3 separate regions of the Homo sapiens genome follow, and regions 1 and 3 are each linked to region 2. Evidence: promoter capture Hi-C in human tissues and cell types (Jung and others, 2019). All regions are on one chromosome and are shown on one strand. The core of a region is centred on a gene start or on the middle of the fragment in contact, and the rest is flanking DNA. Distances in the headings are between cores, read along the strand shown.

Evidence for each region. The method cuts DNA at HindIII sites, captures the fragments that hold promoters and counts their contacts. A contact is called where the count stands out against the background at its distance.
Region 1: a fragment that was not itself captured here is called in contact with the fragment with the promoter of GOT1L1 in region 2 in 11 of the 25 tissues and cell types used here (H1 embryonic stem cells, IMR-90 fibroblasts, adrenal gland and 8 more).
Region 3: a fragment that was not itself captured here is called in contact with the fragment with the promoter of GOT1L1 in region 2 in 1 of the 25 tissues and cell types used here (neural progenitor cells).

The regions. Positions count from the first base shown.
Region 1 is chr8:37,879,567-37,883,752 of GRCh38, forward strand. The region is part of intron 1 of RAB11FIP1 (RAB11 family interacting protein 1); the gene reads right to left. Among named protein-coding and RNA genes, the nearest start is that of RAB11FIP1, 18 kb to the right of the region's middle. RefSeq lists enhancers at 433-1,147, 1,148-1,861, 2,259-2,368, 3,777-3,896. The HindIII fragment of the contact is 7,013 bases long and covers 1-4,186 here.
Region 2 is chr8:37,937,889-37,942,472 of GRCh38, forward strand. GOT1L1 (glutamic-oxaloacetic transaminase 1 like 1) reads right to left here and starts at 2,236. Exons shown (of 9, transcript NM_152413.3): 1 at 2,027-2,236; 2 at 812-993. The coding sequence starts at 2,141. RefSeq lists an enhancer at 1,742-2,258. The HindIII fragment of the contact is 11,209 bases long and covers 1-4,584 here.
Region 3 is chr8:37,995,300-37,999,311 of GRCh38, forward strand. No RefSeq gene overlaps it. Among named protein-coding and RNA genes, the nearest start is that of ADRB3, 31 kb to the left of the region's middle. The HindIII fragment of the contact is 7,620 bases long and covers 1-4,012 here.

The DNA.
Region 1 (4,186 bases), core at 668-3,167, 59 kb before region 2:
CATTGAACTGCACACTTAAAAATGGTTAAAATGGGGCCAGGCGCAGTGGCTCACGCCCGTAATCCCAGCACTTTGGGAGGCCAAGGCGGGCAGATCACTTGAGGTCAGGAGTTTGTGACCAGCCTGACCAACATGGTGAAACCCCATCTCTACTAAAAATACAAAAAATAGCCGGGTGTTGTGCCACATGCCTGTAATTTCAGCTACTCTAGAGGCTGAGGCAGGAGAATCGCTTGAACCCGGGAGAGGGAGGTTGTAGTGAGCCAAGATCACACTACTGCACTCCAGCCTGGGTGACAGAGTGAGACTCTGTCTCAAAAAAACAGGTTAAAATGGTAAATTTAATGTTACATATATTTTACCACAATAAAAAAAATGGTTAGTTGGAAAGGAAGCCTTCTTCCCTAGCTTAATAATCAGAAAAAGTCACATTTCAAACACTATCCAAGAATTACACTTGGTCATTTGCAACCCACTTCAAGATGTGAAAAATGACATTATACCAGTCCAACTCCACTGAGAGACAAGCTTCAGAAAAAGGAGATCTCATGGCATTCATTTTCCATTTAGGAGCCCTATACCTTTGGTGAACTGTAAGAATGTGAGCCAGGTTGGGTACAGTGGCTCACACCTGTAATCCCAGTGCTTTGGGAGTCTGAGAGAGGAGGATTGGTTGGATCCAGGAGTTTGAGACCAGTATAGGCAACAAGGCAAGATCCCATTCTCCAAAAAAAAAATTTTTGTTTTTTTGAGACAGAGTCTCGCTCTGTCCCCCAGGCTGGAGTGCAATGGCGCGATCTCGGCTCACTGCAACCTCCGCCTCCCGGGTTCAAGTGATTCTCCTGCCTCAGCCTCCCGAGTAGCTGGGACTACAGGTATATGCCACAATGCCCAGCTATTCTTTGTATTTTTAGTAGAGACAGGGTATGGTTAGACAGGCTGGTCTCAAACTCCTGACCTCAAGTGATCCACCCACCTTGGCCTCCCAAAGTGCTGGGATTACAGGCATAAGCCACCAAGCGTGGCTAAAAATATTTTTTTTTAATTAGCTGGGTGCAGTGGTGCGTACTTAATAGTCCCAACTACTTGGGAGGTTGAGGCAGGAGGATCACTTGAACCCAGGAGTTCAAGGCTGTAGTAAGAGCTATGATTGCACCACTGCACTCCAGCCTGCGCAACAGAGTGAGACCCTATCCCTTTCAAAAAAAAAAAAAAAAAATGTGAGCCCAGTTTGTAGCAAGACCATACAATGGGACAAATAACTCCAAATACCTGGTCTATAGTGAGCTGTCCACCAGGTCACCCTCACAAACTGAGAACTCACATTCTGAAGTTCTTTTCGGTGACCTATTTAAGAGCGGAAGGTAGTGGACTTAAAGGAAATGATGGTTTTGCCCAAATGAGCACAACTTCCTCTTTCACCTTCAGCCATGGCTGGTGGCTCGCTCACAGGGCAGATCCCTGCCCCCACTGCTACGGCTCCTTCTACACTTAGAGGAAAGGCACAGGGGAAAGTCGAAACCTAACACCTAAACAGCACCTGTGGCATACCTGACACTGCCTACGCACAGAGACATCTTCATTTCAGCCTCACAAGAACGACACGGAGTAGATATTATACCCATTTTATAGATGAAGAAATTGAAGCTCAGAGGTCTGAGAACTGGCACAAGGTCTTGCAACCACTATGGGGTACAGCTAGGATTCCAAATCAGTTTCCCCTATTCTTTCTCCTATTCTTTCCCCTACACCAAGACTCCTGCTTTAAATTCTCTCCTAATTTATCTTGGATGGGCCATCTTTTGTAACATAGAGAAAAGAGGGTTCAAATTTAAATTCTTTTTGAGAAACATTTAAGCTTCTCATTTAAATGTCCAAAGATGAAAGAAGAAAGGAAGGAAACTAACATAGCTTGCCATCAGTCATAAATCGTTGAGATTACTTAAAGGCCAGTATACAAAGTCATCAAGAAGAACTTAAAATGAATTCACAAAATACAGCAAGGAGAGGATAAAATTATATGAGCTATAATTTTGGACCCTTAGGAGACAAATCTTTTATGGTTTTTATAACCTCAATCCAGAGCTGGGCAGGCGGGGAGTGGTGGGTGTTGCAAGACGCAAGGTCTTTTTTTATTTTTTATTTTTTGCAACAGGGTCTCACTCTCTTGCCCAGGCTGGAGTGCAGTGGTGCGATCATAGCTCACTGCAGCCCTGGACTCCTGGGCTCAAGTGGAAAATGCAAGGTCTTTATAGACAATGTCACCCTTGCCAGCCTAGTGTCTGTCCAATACATTTTCCAGGGCCTGGCCTGGAATTGTCTGCATATTTGTCACTTCAATTTTGAGAGGATTATTTATATTTTTCTCTTCTGACAGTCATGTGGTAAATGGTAGCCTTGGTGATGAAGGGTGTTTAGCTTTTGTAAATACCAGTTGCAGGCACCTGAAAAGGAGAAGTTGCTGAACGCTAACTGAGGAGGTTTCGATGACCTCACCAACCGCAGGCGGGCAGCACGCTTCACCTCCCCGCCCAGGGCAGGAGCTTCAGGCAGGGGTTTCTCCACAGCTCTTCCACACGGGCCCTTCTATTAGCCCTCCACGGGGATGCACAAATGTGACAGGCCTCCAAAGCAGCTGTCAGAGGCATTCAAACCAGTGCAACTCCATCTTGAGTGAGGGCTAGGAAAATGAGGCTGGGACTTGCTGCGCTGCATTCCCAGAAAGTTAGGTATTCCTAGCCTCTAGATGTTTATGGGTAAGGGAACAGATGGATAATGTTTACCAAACAGACCCAGACTTGGGAGTGTTCTAATATCCCCAAATCTGGAGAACAAAGGCTATCCTAATTTTGCTTTGAAGCTAATAATATTGATTCTCACAAAATATAGTAATTAAGAAAATTAATCCTTTATCACAAACCCTTGTAGTAGGGCACATCTCTCAATGATCTTTTTATCCTGTGTATGAATAAGCATAGTGCCTAGAGTGGAGGTGTTCCTCCTCTTACTTTCGGGAACGTCCTACTCTGTCTATGGAGTAGCTGTACCTTCAATACTTTGCTTTCTTAATAAACTTGCTTTTACTTTGCACTGCAGACTTGCCCTGAATTCTTTCTTGCGGGAGACCAAACACTCTCTTTTGGGGTCTGGATCAGGACCCCTTTCCTGTAACATAGCCAGTTGACAATTCCAAGGGCCAGCCTTGCCTTTCCGAAAGTATCAGTGAGGTTTTCTTTGCACTTCCTAATGGTTTTTGAGCAAAACTACAACCGATTCCAGAATCCTCCCTCGGGACCAATTATTACCTGATTCTCAGGTCCAATCCCTGGGTCCTAAAGTGGGATTTGCTTTGGAAACTTCCAACACCATTAGGAAGTGCAAATATAAACGTCACCAACTGTTCTTGCTGCTTAATTTCACAAGCAAACCTAAAGCCAAACACCAGGTAGCCAGGCACCAGCCACGGGGCTATTGAAGGATATGAAACAGGCTGAATCACAGGCCAGCAGGGAAACAGCCCAGGCAAAGAGGCAGAATTTACAAATCTGTGCTCCATGTATTAAAGCTGGAAAGCAAAACAAGAATTGTTTCGTTTTTTTTTTTTTCTGGTTTTTTTTTCTTGGTGTTTGTTTGTTTGTCTGTTTGTTTTAGAGACTGAGTCTCACTCTATCGCCCAGGCTGGAGTGCAGTGACGTGATCTCAGCTCACTGCAACCTCCTCCTCCTGGGTTCAACCGATTCTCCTGCCTCAGCTTGCTGAGTAGCTGGGATTACAGGCGTGCGCAACTATGCCCAACTAATTTTATGTTGGCCAGGCTGGTCTCAAACTCTTGACCTCAGGTGATCCGCCTGCCTCAGCCTCCCCAAGTGTTGGGATTACAGGCGTGAGCCACTGTGCCCAGCCAAGAATTGTTTCTTTTACTAGCAATATTATCCTCAAATTCAAAAACAGTTTAAGCAAGGGATGTTTGATAGAAGCATACTTTGATAAGACAGTGAAAGCCACAGTGCTTGAATATCTTGCCCTAAGAAATCCCAAACCAGAAGAACACATCTGGGGATTTTTATATTTAAGATCAACCCAGTTTCTAAGTGTTACTGCCCATGTGTTTTTCAGTTCACTTAATTCCTGCACCTCACAGAAGTAGCTCATAAATAATAAAGTCCCAGCCTAGCAACACAGCATG
Region 2 (4,584 bases), core at 986-3,485:
AAATTAGCCGGATGTGGTGTTGGGCATGTGTAATCCCCGCTACTCAAGAGGCTGAGGCAGGAGAATCACTTGAACCCGGAAGGCGGAAGTTGCAGTGAGCGGAGATCAGGCCACTGCACTCCAGTCTGGGTGACAGAGTGAGACTCCGTCTCAAAAAAATAATAAGTAAATAAACATTAAAAAATAAAAAGAAATAGACAGAAATAACACTCTAAAACAGTAATGGAGGCGAGACGCAGTAGCTCATGCCTGTAATCCCAGCACTTTGGGAGGACGAGGCAGGGAATCCCCTGAGGCCAGGAGTTTGAGACCAGCCTGGCCAACATGGTGAAACCCTGTCTCTACAAAAAATACAAAAATTAGCTGGGCGTGATGGCACATGCCTGTGATTCCAGCTACTCAGGAGGATGCAGCACCAGAATTGCTTGAACCTGGGAGGTGGAGGTTGCAGTGAGCTGAGATGGCACCACTGCACTCTAGCCTGGGTGACAGAGTGAGACTCTGTCTCAAAAAATATATATAATAGGTTAAAAAATAAAACAGTAATGGGAATACTAACACCACCTCCAATTCAGATCATTCCTGTCTTGAAAGAGCTTTCAAATCAGCAGTGTGAGCAGGTGGGAATACCACTGGACTGAGATTCCGATCCTGACTCGATGGCTAAGGACTTGTGGACTCTCTGAGCCTCAGGTATCTCTTTTATCAATACCAGGGGGCCCTCCGAGGTCCCCTTCGGGTTTAAGGTTGTGCAGACCCAGATCGCCACTCTCTGTGTCTAAATGAGCCAGGGGAGGGCCCACCTTCTCACCCTGTTCTCCACAATGGCTTGGCTGTGCTTTCCAAAGAGGAGTGCTAGAGAGGCCTGGATGAATGATTTCAGGCCCATGGTGGGCAAGTACTCATAATTCAGGGAGGGATCCTGTGAAATCTGTAGTCGAGTCTTCTGCACCACGAGAGAAACCCAGGGATGGCCTTCATTTGTCATGCAGACTGTGAGGAAAACCACAGAGGGAGCTCCAGATGCCTGGTTTGGGCCCCCAGGGCTGAGCTCTGCAGACAGCCTGCAAACAAATCTCTCCTGGACTCCATGGGGCTGTGGGAAGGTGCCTGTGAAAATACAACTTTCCCTTTTCTTTTCTCCTTGATGAAAAGAATATGCTGTTAGTGAATGTGTATTATTTTTGTCTTTTTAAAAAAGACAACTGAAACCTATGCCATTTTAAAGGTTAAAAATTATACAAGCCCAGGATTGGTGGCTCAGGCCTGTAATCCCAGCACTTCGGGAGGCTAAGGTGGGTGGATCACTTGAGTTCAGGAGTTCAAGATCAGCCTGGGCAACATGATGAAACCCTGTCTCTACAAAAAAATACAAAACAGCCAGACATGGTGACCAGCGCCTGTAGTCCCAGCTACTCAGGAGGCTGAGGCAAGAGGATGGTTTGAGCCCAGGAGGCAAAGGTGGCAGTGAGCTGAGATCTTGCCACTGCACTTCAGCCTGGGCAACAGAGTGAGGCCCTGTCTCAAGAAAAAAAAAAAAAAAATATATATATATATATATATATATATATATATATATATATATGCAAAATGAGAGTTATAGGTAGATGAAGCTAAATAAAGGTAACCCTGACTTTCACAGTGGTGAGCCCCAGTTGCATAGCAGAAAGCTCAATCTGGAGAACCATTCTTGGTTCAAGAACAGGAAGAGAAAGAGAAAGAGAGAGAGAGGAGGTAAGAATCTGAAGAAGTGTGGGATGGCCATGCAGGCCCCCAAGCATAGAGTTGTGGAAGAGGACATAGCTCTCACCAAATCCCTAGAAGCCCCCAGAGAAGGGCAGAGAGCATGGAATGACCTGGGACCTTATCTGCACTTTTCCCCACTGGGTAATTCTGTTAACAAGAAAAGATCTCTCCACCCACAGAAGCTTGGGCTGCACCCCTCCCCCTGCAGCAGGGAACACTGTCCTCCTAGAGGCAGTTACCATCACTTAAGTCTTATACTTCAGAACTGCTAGGCATCTACCTCTATAGGCTAAGAATATCTTGTTCGGGTAATCATCTTGTTTGTAGGTCTTTAACAAGCTGCCCTCTAGCTTGTGGGCGAGGGGCACATCCATGAACACTGAAAGGGTGGGCATAACTGAAACGAAACTGGAGCCAAGACTATGTGTCTCTGCTCCTGTGTTCCGCTTCTGCCCAGAAGTCTTCCTCCAAGGCTGGGCCGGGCAGTCCTGCCTCTTCCTGGAACCTTGGCAGCCCCAGTGCAGAGGCGCTGGACAACGGGTTGCCAGGGCAACAGAACCTCATGATCTTTGTGGTGGCGATCCACAGGGGCCACAGGAACATTCCAGGGTACTTGAGGAGAATCCCCTCAGACAGCGGGCAGGGCAGGATAACAATCTCCGGAATTCCCAAGCCCGTTTCCCTCACTCAATGCCTTCTCTTCTCTAGCCCCAGGTGGCTCAGTCCAAAGTAACAAGCCCACTCCTTAGATGACAGGGCAAGGATAATGGGAGATTACTTAACAGATACAATGTACATTGTTGGGGTTATGGATACCCTAAAAGCCCTGACTTCACCACTATGCGATGTATGCATCTAACAAAATTACACTTGTACTTCACACATTTATACAAATTAAAAAAAAAAAAAAGAAAGAAAGACATAGGGCAAGGCAGGCAGCCAATAAGCCAGATAGGGCTTCTCCTGCAGAAGCAAAAACCCCAGATCACACACCAATGCAAGTCGAGGCATTGATTTCCATTTTGCAAAGTGCCCCAGATTTCAAAAGGAATAAAAAGCAAACACTGTTTTCTTCCACAGTTGTTTTAATAAAGAATCCTATTATTAGAATATAATTGGCAACTCACTAAGCCAGTCCTATTTCTCTCAGTTATCTAGAGCCAAGACTTCTACATATGTTTGTTAAGTTTCTTTTTCTTTCTTTTTTTGGTTTTTTTTTTTTTTGAGATGGAGTCTCACTTTGTCGATAGTCTCGAACTCCTTGCCTCAGGTGATCTGCCTGCCTTGGCCTCCCAAACTGCTGGGATTACAGGCATGAGCCACCACACCTGGCCATTTGTTAAGTTTCAATGACAGCCAACTAGTAAGTATAGACAGCAGAGGCCAAGGGGAGAAAAGAGCCAGCCTCTATAGAGTCAGTCTGCATATTGCTTGCTTTCTTTTCCTTTTGATGTTTAATGACTCTCTCTTTTTTTTTTTTTTTTTTTTTGAGACAGAGTCTCGCTCTTGCTGCCCACATTGGAGTGCAGTGGTGTGATCTCGGCTCACTGCAACCTCTGCTTCCCAGGTTCAAGAGATTCTCCTGCCTCAGCCTCCCGAGTAGCTGGGATTACAGGCATGCGCCACCACACCCAACTAATTTTGTATTTTTAGTAGAGAGGGGGATTTCTCCATGTTGATCAGGCTGGTCTCAAACTCCAGACCTCAGGTGATCTGCCCACCTGGGCCTCCCAAAGTGCTGGGATTACAGGCGTGAGTCACTGCGCCCGGCTTTTTTTTGTATTTTTAGTAGAGACAGGGTTTCACCACGTTGGCCAGACTGGTCTCAAACTCCTGACCTCAAGTGATCTGCCTACCTCAGCCTCCCAAAGTGTTAGGATTACAGGCATGAGCCACCACACCCAGCCTGATGTTAAATAACTCTTTAAATGATTGTTGCAAACACTGTTGATGTCTCACCCAGAAGGCCTTCACCACCAATGTGCCCGGCCCCAGCTGCTGCTTCGCTGGTGGACAAGGCTTATATGCCTGTGTTCTCTGGAGAATTGTGCTTGGCTGGCAGGAGTCAGCTAGCCTAGAAACCACCTGGAGGTTTCACCCCCACTGACAGGGGTAGCCAATGACTGCCTGATTTAGGCATACAAAGGGTCAGCCACAGCCAGGCATGGTGGCTCACACCTGCAATCCTAGTGCTTTGGGAGACTGAGGCGGGAGGATCACTTGAGCCCAGGAGCTCAAGACCAGCCTGAGCAACATAGGGAGACCCCCCCCACCCACTCCACAAAAAATTTTAAAATTAGCTGGGCGTGGTGGTATTGCAGTGAGCTATGATCATGGCACTGCACTCCAGCCTGGTTGACAGAGTGAGATCCTGTCTTTAAAAAAAAAAAAAGGTCGGGCACGGTGGCTCACACCTGTAATCCCAGCACTTTGGAAGGCCAAGACAGGCAGATCACAAGGACAGGAGATTGAGACCATACTGGCTAATGGGGTGAAACCCCGTCTCTACTAAAAATACAAAAAAAAAATTAGCCTGGCTTGGTGGTGGGCGCATGTAGGGAGGAGGCTGAGACAGGAGAATTGCTTGAACACGGGAGGCAGAGGGCACAGTGAGCCGAGATCTCTCCACTGCACTCTAGCCTGGGTGACAGAGCGAGACTGTCTCAAAAAAAAAAAAAAAGGAAAAGAAAAAGAAAAAAGGCCAGCCCCCTTGTCTCGGTTCACCTCTGTGGCTCAATCTACACTTCAGGGCCCATTCCCCAACCAGGCGAAGCCTAGACTTGACCTGAGGCCACATCCTTGCTTGGTTCCTTCCCCTTCACAATCCTGCTTCCTTCA
Region 3 (4,012 bases), core at 1,453-3,952, 58 kb after region 2:
GTCAGGAGCTCGAGACCAGCCTGGTCAACATGGTGAAACCACGTCTCAACTAAAAATACAAAAATTAGTTGGGCATGATGTCGGGTGCCTGTAATCCCAGCTACTCAGGAGGCTGAGGAGGGAGAATCATTTGAACCTTGGAGGCAGAGGTTGCAGTGATCTGAGATCACGCCACTGCATTCCAGCCTGGGCGACAAATCAAGACTCCGTCTCAAAAAAAAAACAAACAAACAAAAAAAAAAAAACAGAATAAAAATCTATAGTAAAGAAAAAAAATCACTAAGACACAATAATTTGCTTAAAATTGAGCCAAGGTCAGGAGCAGTAGCTCATATCTGTAATCCTAACACTTAACGAGGCTGAGGCAGGAGAATCACTTGAAGCCAGGAGTTCAAGACCAGTCTGGGCAACATAGTGAGACCCCTATCTCTACAAAGAAAACAAAAAAAATTAAAAATTAGTTGGGTGTGGTGATGTGTACCTGTGGTCTTAGCTACTCAGGAGGCTGAGGTGGGAGGATTGCTTGAGCCCAGGAGTTCAAGGCTGCAGTGAGCCATGATTGTGCTACTGAAATCCAGACAGGTCGACAGAACACCCTGTCTCTAAAAAAACAAACAAATTAAGATAAAATAAAATTGAGCCAAAAGCCTTCATCCTCAAATTTGCACCAATATGACAAAATGCTCTGGTTTCATTTTATTTGGACTCTGTGTGTGATAGTGTAAACATTTATAGAGTGAATGAAAAGACAGACTGATGGACCAACTGTGAAATGAACTGGTTCTATTTAAAAGAAAAAAAGGTCCGGTATAGTGGCTCACGCCTGTAACCCCAGCACTTTATGAGGCTGAGACAGGCAGATCACCTGAGGTGAGGAGTTCAAGACCAGCCTGGCCAACATAGTGAAACCCCATCTCTACTAAAAATACAAAAATTAGCCTGGCATAGTGGCATATGCCTGTAATCCCGCTACTAGGGAGGCTGAGGCGGGAGAATTGCTTGAACCCTGGAGGCAGAGGTTGCAGTGAGCCGAGATCACGCCACTGCACTCCAGCCTGGGCGACAGAGCCAGATTCTGTCTAAAAAATATATATATATATATTCACAAATCAAACCCTACAGTCTCACCAAGAGTGCCACTAGAGGGAGCTGCGGCGCAGCGTTCACCCCATGGGAGCGCCCTGGGGCTCCCCCAGCACTTCCCACGCTCTGGGGTGGCTTTCGAGGACATTCCGGCTACCCCTTCCCATCACACCCCCATGTCTTTCTTTTTTGTTGACCCGCATGTTTTCTCATGTACATGCCAACCCAGAGGTTAGGGACAGAGGCGAGTCCATGGGCAGAACTGGTCCCCAGTGCGCTGGGACACTTAATAAATGTCACATTTTGTGTCTCCAATAAAGGAAACTGAGGGCCTGTTGGCAGAAGCCCAGCCTGGGAACCAGGAGGCGGCTGCTCAACGGCGCTGGGCATTCCCTGTGAGTCCACCACGGTTCCCAACATGACGCCTTAGGTTTTACATGGGGAAGTAGTGCTTCCTCCATTTCACTCGTGGAAAAAAAAATGGAATTTCAGAGTGATTTGTAAAGGGTGCATAGGAAGTTAGTGGACTTTGAACCCAGAACTTTTTATCCACAAAACTCATGGAATTAACACTGCACCATCGGCTTTGAGTTTTCAAATATGTCCATACTGAGAGGGTTGCTTTTTGTGAGATCCAGTGAGGCTAGAAGACTGAGTCCAGGGTTCCGTTGGAGTCCGCAGAAGGGAAAAGGAAGGCAGTTACCCTGGAGTCCTTCCCGAGGGCCGGAGGCCGGCCAGTGTCACCACTCCGAAGCGCAGTGTGGACCCGCCCCAGGCAACAGTCCTCAAGGTTCCTGTCTGTAATGGATTGAATGTTCGTGTCTTCCCCAAATTCACGTGTTGAAGCCCTAACCCCAATGTAATGGGATTGGGAGGTAGGGCCTTTGGGAGGTAAGGAGGTTTAGATGAGATCATTAGGGTGGAGCGCTCATGATGGGATTAGTGTTCTTATGAGAAAAGACACCACAGGCTCTTGCACTCTTGCAGGGCGTGCTGGGTTGTGCTCTCTCTCTCTCTCTCTTGCCCCCCCCCCCCGCGCGCTCTCTCTCTCCCGCCCCCTTTCTCCCTTTCTCTCTCTCTCTCCTTCCCCCACTAATTCTCTCTCTCTTCTCTAGTTCTCTCTCTCTCCCTTTCTCCCTCTCTCTCCCTCTCTTCTCCCATCCTCTCCCTCTCTCTCTCCCTTTCACCCTCCCTCTCTCTCCTTCTTTTCTCCCATCCTTTCTCTCTCCCCCCTCTCTCTCCCATTCTCCCTCTGTCTCTCTTTCCCTCGCCCCCTTTTTCCCTTTCTCTCTCTCTCTCCCTCTACCACTTCTCTCTCTCCCTCTCCCCTTCCTCTCTCCTTGCCTGCTTCCCTTTCTCTTTCTCTCTCTCTCCTCCTTTCCCTCTCCCTTTTTCCCTCTCCCTTTCTCCCTCTCTCCCTTTCTTTCTCTTCCTTTCCATCTCTCTCTCTCTGCCCTCTGAGTTCACAGTGAGAAGGCAGCAATCTACAAACCAAGCAGAGGGCCCTCGCCAGCAACCAAATCAGCCAGCACCTTGATCTTGGACTTCTAGACTCCAGAACTGTGAAAAATACATGTCTGTTGCCTAAGTCGCTGAGTTTATGCTATTTTGTTTGTTATAGCGGCCCAAGCAGACAAACACACTGTCCTCACCTCTCTCTTCTTTAAGATGGTTTTCCCCTTCTCCCAGTAAAACCTGCTCTCAGCTAAAGATTTCACCTATTTCACAAACTCCTCAGCTGATGTGATATACTCTGAAGTGCGGGAATCATTGGTAGAGTGGTTAAGTGTATGGGTTTTGGATTAAATACATTATGCAAATACTTAAATTTGGAGCCTGGGCAACATAATGAGACCCAGTCTCTACAAGAAGTAAAATAAATAAATAAATAAATAAACAAACAAACAAACAATGAGGCGGGTGTGGTGGTGCACACCTGTAGTTGGCTACTCCAGAGTCTGAGGTGGCAGGATCACTTGAGCCCAGGAGGTGGAGGCTGCAGGGAGCTATCATTACAACACTGCACCCCAGCCTGGGCCATAGAGCAAGACCTTGTCTCAAAAAAAAAATGGGCTTTGGGTATGGGCAGGCTATCCCCCCACCCCCGCCGACCCCAAACCTCCTCTCCCTCGTGTGTGAAATGAAGATACTAATACTTTTCTTATAAGGTCGTGGGGACATTCAGTGATTCCATCCATGTGCAACCTTGTGCAGTGCAGGCACTGGGTAAGAGCTCCATAACGTTTGTTTCCTTTCTTCCTTGTACAGTCTCGGATTCCAAGGACATGTTTACAGTTTTGCAGAAACTTTAGTGAAAAGAAAAAAGCAGCCAGGGCTGGGCGCTGTGGCTCACACCCATAATCCCAGCACTTTGGGAGGCTGAGGCAGGTGGATCACGAGGTCAGGAGTTCAAGACCAGTCTGGCCAATATGGTGAAACCCCATCTCTACTAAAAATACAATTAGCCGGGCATGGTGGCAAGTGCCTATAGTCCCAGCTACTCAGGGGGCTGAGGCAGAAGAATTGCTTGAACCGGGGAGGCAGAGGTTGCAGTAAGCTGAGATAGCGCCACTGTACTCCAGCCTGGGCAACAGAGTGAGCCTCCGTCTCAAAAAAAGAAAGAAAGAAAAAAAGCAGCCAGGCTTAGTGGCTCACACCTGTAATTCCAGCAAATTGAGAGGCCAAGGCAGGAGGATCACTTGAGCCCAGGAGTTCAAGGCCAGTCTGGGGAACACAGTGGGACCCCCATCTCTACAAAATTTAAAAAATTATCTGGGTGTGGTGGTACATGCCTGTGGTCCCAGCTTACTCTGGAGGCTGAGGTGGGAGGATGGCTTAAGCCTGGGAGGTCGAGGCTGCTGTGAGAGTGAGCCATGGTCGTGGCACTGCACTCCAGCTTGGGTGACAGGGCAAGACTCTGTTTCAAAAA